Linked DNA regions of Homo sapiens: all the other regions are linked to region 2. The links are contacts of gene promoters, found by promoter capture Hi-C in blood cells and fetal thymus (Javierre and others, 2016). All regions are on one chromosome and are shown on one strand. The core of a region is centred on a gene start or on the middle of the fragment in contact, and the rest is flanking DNA. Distances in the headings are between cores, read along the strand shown.

The links. Contacts are between HindIII fragments. The CHiCAGO score rates a contact against its expected background, and 5 or more counts as called.
Region 1: a contact is called between a fragment that was not itself captured here and the fragment with the promoter of TREM2 in region 2, in 1 of 17 cell types (neutrophils). The highest score is 6.2, in neutrophils.
Region 3: a contact is called between the fragment with the promoter of TREML4 here and the fragment with the promoter of TREM2 in region 2, in 2 of 17 cell types (neutrophils and monocytes). The highest score is 9.3, in neutrophils.

The regions. Positions count from the first base shown.
Region 1 is chr6:41,060,740-41,064,089 of GRCh38, forward strand. It overlaps APOBEC2 (apolipoprotein B mRNA editing enzyme catalytic subunit 2), which reads left to right. Exons shown (of 3, transcript NM_006789.4): 2 at 589-1,153. The coding sequence ends at 1,132. Among named protein-coding and RNA genes, the nearest start is that of APOBEC2, 9.2 kb to the left of the region's middle. The HindIII fragment of the contact is 1,506 bases long and covers 760-2,265 here.
Region 2 is chr6:41,161,595-41,165,151 of GRCh38, forward strand. TREM2 (triggering receptor expressed on myeloid cells 2) reads right to left here and starts at 1,522. Exons shown (of 5, transcript NM_018965.4): 1 at 1,449-1,522; 2 at 1-19. The coding sequence starts at 1,488. The HindIII fragment of the contact is 7,981 bases long and covers 1,134-3,557 here.
Region 3 is chr6:41,226,166-41,229,733 of GRCh38, forward strand. It overlaps TREML4 (triggering receptor expressed on myeloid cells like 4), which reads left to right and starts at 2,184. Exons shown (of 6, transcript NM_198153.3): 1 at 2,184-2,325; 2 at 2,549-2,879; 3 at 3,356-3,406. The coding sequence starts at 2,263. The HindIII fragment of the contact is 15,987 bases long and covers 1-3,568 here.

The DNA of each region.
Region 1 (3,350 bases), core at 263-2,762, 100 kb before region 2:
TTTTAGGCCATTTCATGCCAAGATGCAATTTACATGAGTTACAAGGAAGAGAAAAAAGCATAAAATGCTCTGCAAAATCTTTGTTTTGCTCTGTCATGAGAAATTTTATATGCTTGCTACTTACCTGGCCACTTATTGGAATCATCCAGAGAGCTTTTTAAAAATACTGATGCTTGGACCACCTCTCCACATGTTCTGATTTAATTGGTTTGGCATGAGGCCCAGGCACTGACATTCTCAGTCTTCTAGGTGATTCTAAGGTATAGGCAGGTTAAAGATTCAGTGATTTAGAAATGTAGGGGTATGTTGTGCTGGAAGAGTGATGGTGGAGACAATGTCCTAGTAGGGTGACCAAAATGCACACCTCAGTCCAAATTCTCCTCTCCTTCAGATAAACCCTTCTGGATTTTTTAATGCTTTTTTTTTTTTTTTTTTTTTTGTCACTGATGTTACCACAGACAAGACCTATTTATAGTAAGAGTGAATGCATTTCTGAAGTACTGACCTGGAAGAGCTACCTACTCTAGGCTGGTTCTAGAAACAAGAACTTATCATTCTTTCCTGTCCTTTTGTCTCCTTGACCTACAGAGAACGGCTGCCTGCCAACTTCTTTAAATTCCAGTTCCGGAATGTGGAGTACAGTTCCGGGAGGAACAAGACCTTCCTCTGCTATGTGGTTGAAGCACAGGGCAAGGGGGGCCAAGTGCAGGCATCTCGGGGATACCTAGAGGATGAGCATGCGGCTGCCCATGCAGAGGAAGCTTTCTTCAACACCATCCTGCCAGCCTTCGACCCAGCCCTGCGGTACAATGTCACCTGGTATGTGTCCTCCAGCCCCTGTGCAGCGTGTGCTGACCGCATTATCAAAACCCTTAGCAAGACCAAGAACCTGCGTCTGCTCATTCTGGTGGGTCGACTCTTCATGTGGGAGGAGCCGGAGATCCAGGCTGCTCTGAAGAAGCTGAAGGAGGCTGGCTGTAAACTGCGCATCATGAAGCCCCAGGACTTCGAATATGTCTGGCAGAATTTTGTGGAGCAAGAAGAGGGTGAATCCAAGGCCTTTCAGCCCTGGGAGGACATTCAGGAGAACTTCCTATACTACGAGGAGAAGTTGGCAGACATCCTGAAGTAGGGCAACTGGGCTTTGCCTCACGTGAGTTTTCCTGGTGCCATGGCACCAACACTTTATTATGTTAACTCCAGTAGAAGGTGTGAGGTCAGGTAGAATCTGTGATATGTCTGATTTTCCTTTGGAAGGGTTTCATTTCTCTGCTTTTGACTGGTTGCAAAAATAGTTTAGAACATGTCTCTTTCCTCTGAATCCCTCTCTAAACTTTTCCCTCCCACACTTTTGTATCAAAGTAACTTTCCCCTAACTTAGAATACTCAAGGTTGACAGGAATCCTAAAACTTTCATGAGGCAAGATGACGTTCTTTGGTAAGATTTAGATGGTGCAAGCACCTGCTACTGAACCACAGCAGAGAAGATACTGAAATCCTCTGAGTATGCCCCTGTGTACATGTCAGGGATTACTAATTCCAGACATCTTCTAGATGCCTCACTCCCATATCCACTGGCAATCTTACCATTCCATTTTTCTCTAATGAATGTTTTTTAGTCCTTCAGGGACAATTTTTTCACTTATGGTAATTTTGAAATTCCCCAAATGGACTGGTATTTAACTTGTTTTAAGCCAGACCTGCTTTCATGTTTTCAAACAAATGGCTACACTTTGAAGGAGACCAACAATTGCTGTGTGAAAATACAATACGGGAACATTTTCCTTATGTTGAGAAGACCTCAGTAGAATTCATGGAGGATGTCGAATGCAGGAATGGGGATAATATAGCAACAAGCTAGTCCATGCAGGAACATTTAAAGAGTTAAAAAGACATTTGTAAAGTAGGCAGCAGCTCAGAAGTAACCTCTTACAGATATCAAGAGGTGATAGGAGAAAGATTAGCTATTTAAGCAAATAATTAGGACACAATTAAGGCCAATTTGGCCTCTTGCTGAGGGTAAATTAAACTCTAACAGAAACAGGCTAATTACCCTCAGGAAAGAGGGCTAAAGGATCCTTTACTATCTTTTTTACATTTAGTCTGATTGAGTTTGCGCCTACAGAAATGCTATGACGAAGCCCCCTTTGCAAGGCCCCAGTTACTGATCAAAATCTTCCAGTAATAGAGGAGGGGTACTCACGACACTCTTACCCAACTTTAATCCTGCAACAACTCACATATTACTAAAACATGAAAACAACAAGCTTCCATGAAGATAATTTACTTTTGGTCTCTCTCACTCCTAACACCCTTAAGAGAAGATGTCGCTTCATAGACACGTTTAGGAAATATCAATGTTCCAGAGCTTGATGTTGGCAGGTGTTTTCTATTAGACATGCACATGGGCACCTGATCATTCTCAAGCTGAGCATTTGCCAACCCATGAAGATACAACTTTCAGCCATTTCTTTTAAAAAGCAGGACCCAGTCACTGAAGTCAGTGAGCCTATGATAGGGTATACTGTGTGGTACTCTGCTCACATAAAATAAGACACTTTATAGTGGTGAACAGTAGTCAAAACAGATTTCTGAGGGTGCCCTCTGAGAATATAAAATTTAACTTTTAGAATTCCTTGAAGATTTTGTTAGTGTATGTACTATCACTGTAATTATAAACCCAACATAGATTCTACAGACTAACCGGCAGCTTAAAATTTAACCCCAGTATATTTTCCTTTCAGACATCTTTCAGAGTCAAGGGCCCAGGTGCCTAACTAGCAAGTCCTTAGAGCTTTTTTTTTTTTTTTTTTTTTTCAGTGATTTCAAATATAACTGTATTATCTGGACCCATTAACATGCTTCCCTGTCTTCTATTTGAATTGCTCATGTTTGTGAAGGGAAAGGTTAAGATATATCAAGTTAAAAAAAAAAAAACTGGCATGAGATAAGAGTGTAATCTAAAAGCCCAAAAGAACAACCCTGCTTAATTAAAATAATCTTGAGAAATGAGCATTTGTTAAATAAAGTGTCTTATTTTACATACTTATTTCATCTTTCTTTTTTTTTTTTTTAATGACAAAATAGTATTTAATCCTATATTTAGTCAAAAGACCAGAGTTAAACCAGATCTCTTCTGGGGCTTTTTCTGTGTAAACCACATCAAAACATGAACGAAAGACTGGCTTCTGGTTTAGTCAATCCTGGTAAATTTACCCAATCCTGCAAAGGAAACTATGGAGGAGAAATCCAGGGACTTGTTGGGAAGGGCACACAGAAACCTTAGTTCAAAAAGAAACTAGTCATTGTTCGGGGCCAGCAGAGCTCTCAGTAACACATTTTCTTTGTTT
Region 2 (3,557 bases), core at 272-2,771:
TTGTGGGCTCCGGACAGCTCTGGGGAGGAGACATTCATTCACTCCTTTGTTTACCAAATACGCTTTGAACACTTGCTCTGTGCAGTGACCTAAACAGACAAAAATCCTGCCCTGAAGGAGCTTAGGTTCTTATACAAGTTGGGAGCGGATGGCACAGCATGTGTTTGTGGGAAATTGGGAACCAGGAAACCTGGGACCTGGGTTTGGTTTTCTCACTGTTGCTCTTGCTGGGCCTCCTTGGAGAAGTAACTGACCTTCTCTGGGTCTATTCTGGAGGCACTTGGTCTTAAAACCCCCTCCAGTTCTGTTCTGCACATCTCTTTGCCATCATTTGGGACTGGGACCTCTCCTCTCGGCCTGGGGCTGGCTCTCCCTGCCCCGCCACTCTTGCTTGCTCTGCAGCCGCCCACATTGGTACCGACTTTCCTGACCTTTAACTTCCAGCTTCCCTATTTCTGTGGCTTTGTTCCCCTTTCAGGAAGGACCCGTCTCGGAGATATTTTGGGGGAGACATGAGGCTGCTATTTTGGGAACCCTCCTTAGGGCGGGGGAGATGGGCTTAGAGCACCAGCCTGTTGCTGGGGCAGCCCCCAGAGCCCCCTGCTTTGACTTCTCTCTTGGTCCTCCCTTGCCTGCCATCTTCAACCATTACTGTGACAGAGGCTTGAAAGATAGGATTGGGAAGTTGGTGGCTTGCCTTTTGGAACTAGAGAGACCAGATGGGCCGTGGCCCTCTCCCATCTGACCACCTCCCATCCATGCCTCAGAACCCCGCCTTCCCCCTGACCACCATCTAAGAAGCTGCAGGAACAAGACTCCATTTGGCACCGTCTCTCCTCTTGCCCAGGTTTGTCCAGTGCTCTGGGGGAGCAAAAGGTGCGCTTTCCTCAGCGGGAAGAAGCAATTGTGTACAAAAATTTGGTGTGTCAATTCCCCTCAACTCAGCAACGGAAATCTCTACGCTCCTCACCTCCCATCAAGAGCTGAGGACAAGGGGACCTTCAGAGCAGGGGAGAGAGTGCCCCAAAGATGCAGATGAACATCCTCAGGTTCTTTCCTCCTTTATAACTGTAGGGGCTCATAATTAGTGGCTTATAATTTCAGAGGCTATTACCAGTGCCAGTGCCCCCCAAAGCTTCCCCCAACTGCCAGCTAGTGCCTGGGATGCCACTGTTAGCACTCCTTCCCTTCCAATGCAACCAGAGTCCACCAGCCCCTTACATGTCCACATGCAGAAAGAGTCTGAGGGTAGGTTTTGATACTGGGGAGGGAAGGAGGGTGTGAAGAATATGGGCAGGGTGGGGAGGAGAGGAGTGCAGAACAGGGCACTCAGGCATGCGAGGACTGCCACCGCCTTCATAATTCACCCCAGGGCCCACCACCCGCGCCCCAACCACATGCTCAAAGTGAGGGAGAGAAGGCATCACAGGGCACGGAGGGGATCCTACCTGTGACAAAGAGTAAGATGAGCAGCCGGAGAGGCTCCATGCCACCCTTCCCCAGCCAAGGGCAGAAGCAGAGTGCCTTGTGCAAGATCTCGTCTTTCCCTTGAACTGCAGAAAAGAGAGGATCAGGCATGTCAGGCGCTGCCCACAGGAACTGGGCTCCTGGGGATTAAGCAATAGTCAGGACTGGGGTCTGGAGGCGGTGCAGGGTGGGGACAGAGGGGAGGAGGAGTCGGCCACTGCAGCCCTGGCAGAAGGAGGCTGAGTCTCCCAGACCTCTGAGAAGCCAGCCCACCCTCCTGCTGGTGCCAGCCAGGGTGGCCCCCAGATGGTTGGGGCTGGTAAGGCCCTGCACTGCTCAGTTTCCTTGCAGAGCCTAGCCCAGGGATCACTATCCTCACAGCTGTATTCAGACCCTCCACCAGCTGCAATGCCCGCCATCTTCTGGTTTCAGCCTTGCAAGAGTTGGAGAACAGCTGTGCCTTTAGAGGCCAGGACCCTCATCCAGCACCTCTTAGTTCATCCCCCCAGGGCTGTCATTCCTGTAGTGTGGCAGCAGTTAAGTACACAGCTCTGGAGCCAGACTTCCTGACTTTCTGGGTGTGTAACCACACATCCAAAACCTACCTGTGTCTGTTCCCTGATCTATACAGTGGGAATAATGATAGTGCAAAGGGTTATCAGGAGCACCATATGGGTTCCTACAGGTAAAGTGCTTTCCAGTAGGGCCTGACACACAGCATTCAACAAATACTAACTATTACCATTATCCTAGTTAGAAGGGAAAAGGGAAATGGGCTGTCCATAAGACAGAAAATTTTCTCTCCCACCTGGAATTTTCTGCCCAAGTTTAGCCTTCTTGGAACTGTTGGGTGTCTCCTGTGCACACATGCTCACACTGGTGTTTATTTTGTGCACACACATGCTTGAACTCCTGATCATCCTATCCTACAGGACAGGACAGGATATTTCTCAGAGTTCTGGGGGTAGGGGTGTGTTTTTCTACACGTACAGGTTCCCATGGTGATCCAAGCACAGGGACCCACGTGTGCAAAGGCACAAAAGTGTGAAATGGCCCAGTGAGTCGGGGATTGGATGGAGGAGGCTTGAGTCAATTCTAGGAGTGGGAAATGGAGTTGTGCTGGGAGTGGCAGAAGAGGCTGGAGAAGCCTGCAGGAGCCTGTAGATTATCAGGGTCTACTTTAGTTTCCTGCAAACACTCACTTATTTGTTCTTTTATTCATTTATTTACTCATATTTACTGTGCATCTAACTTACGGACAGGGAATGTGCTTGGAGATGGGGAATTCATAGTGAGGAGAAGACAGGCCTCCACTCAAAGGGCCAACTGCCCGGCCTTGCCCCAAGGGCCTGGGGGCTGAAGTCTGAGGCTGCCTGAAGATCACTCTGTAGGTACTCTTCTAGGGTCTTTTTCTAGAAGTCAGGTTTATTGGCCCATAATTTACATATACAAAAATTTACCCCTTTTAAATGTCTAGTTGTGTAAATGTTGACAAACTCATGCATCTCTATAACAACCACCACAATCACCATGTCTGTGTAACACAATACCATAATATAGAAAGTTTCATTTAGCTTAAGCGAGAGCCTTTGTGCCCATTTTAGCCAGTCTCTTTCTCTCCAATCCAGGGCCTGGCAACTACTAAGCTGACATCTGTTTCTGTAGCTTCCTGCCCTTCCTAAAATGTCATAGACATGGAATTAAATAGTATGTAGCCTCTTGGGTCAGTCTTTATTCACTCATCAGAATAAATTCAGCATGCGTGAAGTTTCACTTCTCAAGAATGTATTCCTTTTTATTGCTAAACCATCTTTCATTCTATGGTTGAACCACAAGTAGCGTATTCATTCACCCGCTGATGGATATTTGGGTTGTTTCCAGTTTGGGACAATTATAAATGAAGCCACTATAAACATTCATGTACATATGTTTTGTGTGGACATATGTTTCTATTACCCTTGGATAAAATCCTAAGAATGGGACTGCTGGGTCACATGTAAGTGTATGTTTAAGTCTATAAAAGCTGCCAAAGTCTTTTCCAAAGAGGCTGTACCATTTTTACATCCTTGTCAACAGTTAATATTGTCAGG
Region 3 (3,568 bases), core at 934-3,433, 65 kb after region 2:
AGTTGTGTAGGTATTGCATACTTCCCTGATGTGCTATGTTCAATGTCTTCTATTATTAATATAGTCCAATAGTATGCTACATTTCTCACAATTAATGAGTTGATATTGATACATTACTATAATTTTACAAAATTGATGAGTAGAACTCATATATTTATAATGCGTGGTAGGATAGTTTGATGTGTGTATTAACTGTGAAATTACTAAATCAAGCAATACCACATATACTTACTTGTTTTGTGGTGAGAACATTTAAAATCTATTTTCTGTCATTTTCAATTGTACAATTCATAGTTATGAACTGCACTCACCATACTGTGCAATAGATCTCTTGAACTTATTTTTTCTGTCTAACATATTGTGTTTCTTCAACAATACCTACCCAGTTTGTCCAATTCCCAGCCTCTGGTAATGCCATTCTACTCTGTTTCTGTGGTAGATTTTATTAATTGAAGTCCTTACTTCATTCAGATTACCCTGGCTTTTACCTCATGTACTTTCTGTGCTCCAGGATCCCACCTAGGAAGCCACATTGCTTTTAGTCTTCATGTCTGCTTAGGCTCCTCTTATTCATAGCAGTTTCTGAGAATTATTTCTTAGTTTTGATGGCCTTGACAGTTTTGAGGAACGCTGCTCAGGTATTTTGTAGAATGTCCCTCATGTGGAATTTGTTTGATGTTTTTCTCCTGGGGCCAGCGGCTTTGGGGAAGGAGACTGCACAGCTAATTGCCCTGTCATCACATCAAGTCAATGACACATTCTAACAACCTGAGTTATCCCTGTGGGTCTGCACTTTGGTTGCCTGGCTGCCACAGTAAGTGTCAGGTTTCTCCACTGTACAGTTACTCTTCTCTTCCTTCCCATGCTATCCTCTGGAGGAAAGTCACCTGCACAGCCCATGCTTAAGCCGTGGGAATTTATGCTTCTGCCTTGAGGGCAGAATACCTATAAGAATTGTTTGCAATCTCTCTCAGTCCCTTCAGGCTGCTATGAGAAGATGCCTTAGACTGGAGACTTTCTAAATAATAGAAATCTCTTTCTCAAAGTTCTGGAGTCTGGGAAGTCAAAGATCAAGGTGTCAGTGGATGTGGTATCTGCTGAGGGCTGCTCTCTGCTTCCAAGGTGGTGCTTTCTTGCAGTAACCTCAGTTGACTGAAGGCATGAACACTGTCCTCATATGGCAGACAGCGCAAATCTGCTTCCTGCAATCTCTGGTATAAGGGCATTAATTGCATTCTTGAGGATGACGCCCTCATGACTTAAGATTTTCCCACAAGATCCCACCTCTTAACGCTATCACATGGAAATTAAGTTTGAATATATGAGATGGGGGAACAACATTCTGAACACAGCAGAATCCTTATGCATGGGATATTTGTCTATTCCCCCCCCCAGTTCTTTATTCAGTCATTTACTTACATCAGCATGGACTCCTAGAGATTTAATATATACATTGGGTAGTAATCCAGTACCACTTGGTTTTGTTGCTAGATAGTTCTCACTTCGGCCATTTTCTTTTTCTGTACATTTTACACACGCGTTGTTCTTTCATCCACTGATGTATTCATCCAACAAGCACTGATTGAGATGATCCCAAGCTACCATAACTGATCCACTCCTACCTGCCTTCCCCTCCAACTTTCCCTGACCAGCACTCTCTTTCCTCCCTGCTTTCCTGGCCCCACCATTTCCAGGGAACATCTTGTAATTCCTGGGATTAAAATCTGCCCTCTACAAAATGTCTCAGGGTCAAAACTCATCATCAACCCACCATGGCTAGACCAGAAGGATTCAGGGGTCTGGTCGTGCCTCCAAGGGCCCTGACCACCTATAGGAAGTGCACAGAGAGAAGGAAAGAGGGATGACCCCAGCTTTATTCACCAGCTTTATTCTTGGCCATGCTGAGAGCTGCCCCTAGCAATAGAGGAGCAGTATGACTGGCTGGAAGGCATAAAGCAGCAGACATGGGGAGAAGTTCAGTGAAAGGCGGCAGAGCAACACAGCAGGGCTGAGGTGCCCAGGCCCAGAGACAGACCCTGTAGCTGGTGGCCCCTTTCAAGGCCTGGCTGCCCCTCCTCCCCTGGTCTGCAGAGCCCGCCCTCCCAGGCCGACCATTTCCCCAGCAAGACATTGACTTCCTCAATTTTACCAGCTGAGAGACACTGGGAACCTGGGGCAGAATCAGACCCAGCGTCTGACTCCTCCTGAGAGGGCTCCCTTTTTTCTCCTCTCCTCCGCTGTCAGAAACAGATCTGGGCTGGAATGGCCTGGGGTGGGGTCCACACCTGCTGCTTCCACCTGTGCTGCTGCTGCTCCTGGCCTCAGGTGACATGGAGGGAAAGAGTGCAGGGGGTGTAAGGAGTGGGATGAAGAATGAGTGGGGCAGGGAGCAGCATGGCTGTGTGACCATAGGACAGAATTTAGGGGCCCTCTTCCATGTGTGGGCATCAGAACTAGTTCCCCCTCCCCTTCCCCAGCCTGTGATGGGGGAGGTTGGGTCCCTTCAGAGCTCTGACCTGGGTTTCTTTCTGCCGGTTCCTGGGTAAAGGGTGCTGTGCCTGAAGAACTTCACAAACACCCAGGACAGACCCTCCTCCTGCAATGCCAGTACTCACCCAAGAGAGGGCCCTATCAGCCCAAATCCTGGTGTCAGCAGACATCTCCAAGTCGGTGTACCTTACTTGTCACCAGCTCCAAGCCCTGGACAGCAGTTCAGAAGTCTCATTACACAATCTGGGACAAGCCCAATGCTGGCTTCTTCAACATCACCATGATTCAGCTGACACAGAATGACTCGGGATTCTACTGGTGTGGAATCTACAACGCTTCCGAAAACATCATCACTGTTCTTAGAAATATCAGCCTGGTGGTGTCTCCAGGTGAGCTCTTTTCTTGAGGAAATACCTCTGTGCCACCCCCCAGGGACCTGAAGGAAATGTCATGCACCCCCTCCCATGCCTCTATCATCCCCCATCCTGCCAGGTATTCTGCTGTGGTCCAAGGGGAGCAAAGATCCTGTCCCCAAACATGGACTCTCACCTCTCCTCCACCCGGTACATCCTGGCCTCAATTGTTGGGAAGGTACCCTCAGAGGTCCCTGGACAGAGACACAGTCTGTCTGTCACTCTGCGTCTCTCTTTGTCTTACACAGGCACACCCACAACTCTTCTTTTCACACACACACTAACACACACACACCAACAACTCTGTCATGCAGATCTTAGGCACAGACCACTCCTGGCTTAAGACATCCTGAGGGTCTGGCTCTGGGCCCCTACCTCCTCTTATGTATGGGGTAGACCCTACTCTCTTCTGGGCCCCTGGAGAGTCATTGTCTGCTGTCTTTTCTCTTTAGCCCCAACCACGTCTCCTATGTGGACTCTTCCCTGGCTCCCAACAAGCACAGGTAGGTTGGAGGCCTCGGTGGGGGAAGATTAGAAGGGTCACCAGGCAGCTTGGGAGCCTCAGATTCAGGGAAGGGGAAACCAGGGAGGCCTGCCTCTGAGGACTGATCTCTTGGGGCCTGGGCTTGTGGGAAGCTACCTTCAGGGCCCACTGTCTCTTAGGG